Linked DNA regions of Homo sapiens: region 1 is linked to region 2. The links are contacts of gene promoters, found by promoter capture Hi-C in blood cells and fetal thymus (Javierre and others, 2016). All regions are on one chromosome and are shown on one strand. The core of a region is centred on a gene start or on the middle of the fragment in contact, and the rest is flanking DNA. Distances in the headings are between cores, read along the strand shown.

Evidence for each region. Contacts are between HindIII fragments. The CHiCAGO score rates a contact against its expected background, and 5 or more counts as called.
Region 1: a contact is called between a fragment that was not itself captured here and the fragment with the promoter of OR2AG2 in region 2, in 1 of 17 cell types (activated CD4 T cells). The highest score is 5.1, in activated CD4 T cells.

Annotation. Positions count from the first base shown.
Region 1 is chr11:6,522,527-6,525,331 of GRCh38, forward strand. The region is part of intron 10 of DNHD1 (dynein heavy chain domain 1); the gene reads left to right. Among named protein-coding and RNA genes, the nearest start is that of DNHD1, 27 kb to the left of the region's middle. The HindIII fragment of the contact is 734 bases long and covers 951-1,684 here.
Region 2 is chr11:6,770,684-6,773,383 of GRCh38, forward strand. It overlaps OR2AG2 (olfactory receptor family 2 subfamily AG member 2), which reads right to left and starts at 1,293. Exons shown (of 2, transcript NM_001004490.2): 1 at 939-1,293. The HindIII fragment of the contact is 9,473 bases long and covers 1-2,700 here.

The sequences.
Region 1 (2,805 bases), core at 68-2,567, 250 kb before region 2:
GTACCGTGATGAAATAATCTGTACAAAAAACTCCTGTGATAGGAGTTTACCTATATAACAAACCTGCACATGTACCCCGGAATCTAAAATAAAAGTTTAAAAAATGGAATAAATTTTGAATACAGGTAAATAAGTAGCAGTTAAAACACTAATAGTAGTCTTTAAGAAACATACATCCAACTGAGAAAACTGTTACTTAAATGAGGCAAAATTTGTATGGCCTTTTAACTAAATTACAAAATAATTTCAATAGCCCCACTTACACACAAAAGTATGAAAATTAACCCCTTTTCAATAGAAATGTATACATTGACTAGATTCTAATCACTAAAAGAATACTCAGGATATTATTAATAAAATAGTTGCAACATATTCTCCAGTCTTAAACGGCGTTCTCCAATATTTTCCAGAGAACATTTTACAACTAAACAAGAGAGTATTACTGTTACTATTTGATGTCCTTACAATTTTATCGGAAGTTTTCTGCAGTTCAAAACTCAGAAAGCACGATCAGCTAATCACTTTTCTCATCTGTCAGGTGTCAGATTCAAAAACCTTAAACTTTAGTATGGCAATATCCTACCAAGATTGGAATAACTTTTTGATATTTGTGGTAAGATAAATCTGTTACACTGAAAAGAGACAAAGGATTGCCTAATTTTAATTATATAATCTCTTGATGTACGTTTTGGTTGGGATGCCTGAAATTAGCTTGGAGATACAATGCAAAAATATGAAAACTGTGATTTTTGCAAGGGGACTGCACAGGGAAGGTCTCTTTGGAGTATGAGGTATGAGCAGTAGGACTAGGAAGAGGAAGTATAGAGGGAAGCAGTGTGACTGTGAGTAGATTTATAGATGAGAGAGAAGGAAAGATTTTTTTTTCCTTGCCGCTCTGTGAGAAAGCAACCTTGGAGGTATGAGGAGTCATATAAATATGTTTAACAAGAAGCTTTGCTCTGTGTGGAATGTCTGAGTCACTCATTCAAGGAAACCTATAGTAAAGATCTGTATCATTGAAGCCTTTCAAGTTGGATTGATATTTTAAAATTCAACTCCATGTTGACTCATATGTATTATATCAATACATATAAATTTTCAATTGAAGCCCCAAATCCCTTAGAAATGGCAGGTAAATTACATTCCTTTGATTTAGTTGATTTCAAATTTCTTCTTATGGCCAGGCACAGTGGCTCACACCTGTAATCCCAGCACTTTGGGAGGCCAAAGTGGGAGAGTTACTTGAGGCCAGGAGTTTGAGGCCAGTGTGAGCAACATAGTGAGACCCTGTCTCTACAAAAAAATTTACAAATCAGCCAGGCATGGTAGTGTGCACCTGTAGTCTCAGCTACTCAGGAGGCTGAGGTGGAAGGATTGCTTGATCTCAGGAGTTTGAGGCTGCAGTGAGGCATGATCACACCACTGCATTCCAGCCTGGGTGACAGAGATACCAAATCTAAAATTTAAAAAAAATTTTCTCATTATAAGCAAAGTTTATTTCATTCTTACCTTGGCTATGAAGTTAGTGATTTTTGTTTTGTTTTGTTGGTATGTTCTTTTACCAAATTCCATTAAAAATAGACTAGCTTTTCTTTCCATTGCTTGGAATCACAATTGACTTTGTATAGCACCATATTGCCTGAGCACTCTCATAGGTCTTGGCACCTAGAATCACTGCTCTTCAAGCTTGTCTTATATTTTGGAGCTCACAAAACAGACAATTACTAACTTCAAAGGTAGAGAAGAAGTAACAGCACCCATCTTCACAGAATTTGAAAGTAGAATATCAGGAAGAGAACCCCTGTCTCTCAAATTTCTGCTTATCCCTTTTTTCATCTCTTCTCTCTGTGTATCTTTCCAGTTCCTCTGCCCTGATTCCTGAGTCCAGTTATCTCTCCTTCCTTTGGACTTTCTGTTCCCTTATAACTACTTCTTTCAAATAACTTAAACTTTTTATGACACCGACTCCATCCTTGACTTTATATGATATTTGAGTTTTCCTGTCCGTGAGACTGATTTAGTTCAAACTTCAAGACAAGGAGTATGATTGATTCAGCTTCTCCTGTAGATTGCATGCTTTATTCATAAGCTATGGCAAGGGGATGTGTCATGGTGCAAAATAACTGGCTTTTAGCTATAGGCAAGGGTAGATCCTCTTAGAAGGCTGTGTATGGTGGGGGAGGTTGCAGTCTTCAGCTATGCTTGTGTTTGGCTATAAACGTCTATTATATGGGCCTGAGTATGGGGGTTGATTTTGGATTAAGTAATCTTAACTCAAAACTACGTACGCACCTATAACTAAAAAATTCATGATGCAGCTAGATTCAGCTGCAGTGGCCTAAACAAAATAAAACAAAACAAAACAAGAAGTCTTGAAGTAGGTGCTTCCAGAGTTTGTTCTGTGGCTCAAAAGTGGTCATCAAGTACCAGGTTCTTTGTATCTTTCCATCACTCTTTCCTGCTTTTAGCTATATTTAAGAGCAGATTCTGTAAGAGAGTTATGTGTGGCGGAGGAGGCCACAATAAAGTGGTTTTCATTTTTTTTGTTTTTTCATTCTCAGGCTTGTTGCCTCATAGTTGCAAGACAAGCTGCAATGTCAAGCATCCCATTCTCAAGCAAAATCAGGCAGAAAAGGAGAGGCAAGGTTAACAAGAGAGCTCTGTGTCTGACTCTCACTTTTTGCCAGGAAAAGGAATCTTTTCCGGAAACTCCCCATCAGACTCACTTTTACATCTCACCATCAAAATCTGCGTCATCTGTCTACCTCTAGCTGTAAGATAGGCTAGGAAATCAAATGGCTGACG
Region 2 (2,700 bases), core at 43-2,542:
TATTTCTGCTAAATATTAGATTTGAAATGCCTTCATTTTTCTTGAATAAAAAGATGAATGGACAGGTAAATAAAAGGAGGAACATAATTAGCTGGGCACATTCTTCTAGCTTCCTGCACCAGATGTTTGGACAGGATTTCAAAGAGAAGAAAAATCAGGGCTTGGGTAAGGTGGTGTAACCAGGACTCAGGATCCTACATACCTACCTCCTCCCTCTGATACGGGACTATTGTTTTCCCTTCTTTCCATTTACTGAGTTCTCTCTGGGGTCATCTAAAGGGAAAGGCCAGAGAACACACACTGGGCCTACAGAGGAAGAGCTTCATTCTGGAAAACTGCTGGTGGTTGCGGGTATTTCAAACCAAGAGAAGTCAGCAGAGGCTGATATTAAGAGGCATTGCTATAGTTTATGGAAAATGGTCAGTCAATTAACAAGGTAGAGCTAAATTTTTGGAAGTATATTTTATAAGTTTTTCTTTTTCATCTCTGCTCAGTATATTTATTTTTTGTATTTACTTCATTTGGCTTTTTGTGTGGCACTGGACTTAGCGCCAAGCAGTCCTGCAGGGGAAAGGCACTTCAGCATATTTTAGATAGTCCTCCTTTGAGGTACTATTCATTTGGGGACTCACATCAAACTACTGGAGGCCAGGAAAATCTAGATGTAACAAAGGTAAGTACTGAGACTTTTACCAGGAGGCCATCATCAGGAATTCTAGGAACTCACGGCTGGCCAATGGCATAGAATTATTTTGGTTGTTCCTACATGTGCAAGATGGGTACATGTACAAGGTTGATAAGATATAGATGGGAGTGAGTGAATCATAAAGCCTGAGGAACTAGAGAATCTGAGAAGGAGAGCAGTGTAAGGTCTTGACCCTGTTTCTCAGGACTTCCAGACTTCCCATATTGCCTTGAAACGGAGACAGAGCCCTTACCTCATATGGGAAGGGGCATAGCTTCCAGGTAAAGAGGTTCAAGAAGCCAAAGAAAGAAAAGTTGCTTCTTCTGGCCAGGATGAATGTAGGTGTGTGTATGGCTGTCTCTAGGATCAGAGATCAAAGGCTCCTCCAGTCACTGGCACTGCAAGTCCTCTCTGGAAGTAGAGATAGATGCAGACAGGCAGCTGAGAACCTAGGGCAGGATCCTGCAGAAGTGAGGAGCTGAATCTCTTCCAAAGTTCTCTCATTCACTGTCCTTGCGAGAAAGTCCTTACTGCTTTGGAATGGTTCTAGCTGAGTTCTTAAGTCCAGGTCCTCAGATTTCATATATTCCCCTCATGCTGTGTTTCATGATAAAAGAGGAGCACAGCAGGAATGTGAGAAAAGAGGTATAAGAAGAGCTGCTTAAAAGAGACCCACCAATGCCCAGCCTTACTGTCTCTGCGCCAACAGTGAGGCCTGTCCTGGGGGAGGGTTCATAGTCTCACCCTCTCAGCTGACATGACCTCCCCTGAAAATATTGCTCCAGGAAATGGGATTTTAATAAATCCCCTTGGGCATGTCTCCTGGCCTGCCATTTCTTCAAACTTTACCACCAAATGAGCTCTGAACCTTGAGGCCTTGTTCTGCCCGCCATGGGCTTGCTGTGTCTCACCACTCATTGGAGTCTAAGATCTTTCTCCTGCCTTACAAAACCAAAACTATAATTTTAACCTAGAAATCACTGACCGGAAAACCAGACAGAGGCTGTTTCTGACAAAATAGATAGTGTCAGTAACCAATCTGAAAAGCAACACCTCCCTGTCCAGCCCTCTGTCCAAAATATAAAGTCTGTCTCATGGGTTCTATAGATGCTGCCACTCACATATCCCTCTTTGTGCCACTAGCCTGGGCTATTACCAACTAGAGGGAGTTAACTATGCTTCTGTTAATATCAGGTCTTCCTTCACTGAGCTTTAATGAGGATCCAGCACTAATTTATTTTTCAGTTCTTTGTTTCTCCTTTCTACTCCCTCTTGTGTGTGTTCATTTGTTCATGGGCCTACATATTCTGTGATCAGTCAGCTGAGCTGCTCAGAGCTTTGGGATGATGACACAGCACCTGCTTGCACTCACTTCTGCTTTTAGTTCAGGCTTTCCCATCTCTCACCCAATTCTGTGCTTAATCTTCCTCATTCTTTAGTATCTCTTTAATCAGCCATTTCACCAGGAAATGCTGAAAATTTCTTCCGGAGTTATCATATCTTTTCTCTTTGAACTTAAAAAAAATAAAAATAAGTTTCCACTTTCTGTTTATATAAAATATATACTCAAAATTATTTCAGAAGTGCAACAGAAGAACTAATATAAAAATCTTTTTATTTTTTAATTATAAAAGGAATGTACTGAAAAGACGGTTTTAAACATGTAAATTATAAGAGCAGCATTATTCACAGTACAATAAAAATTAGAAACGACCTTTATGCCCATCAACAGTGGAATAGATAGATATGCACCAAAGGGTTACTATGTAGGAATCTAAACAAAGGAACCAGAGCATACAACAAAAAAAGCAACTTAGGAAACTAATATTAAGGGAAGCAAGAGACACCTTAGGATTATATATCGTGGTACTTCTTTTGCAGTGTTAAGAACTTAAGTGAAAATAAACTTCCTATAAATATGTGTACATTCAATAAAACTACATATAAATGAAGAAAGAAAATGATGGACATGAAATTTGCGTTAATAGTTATAGTGAAAGGAGGCAGAGAGCTGG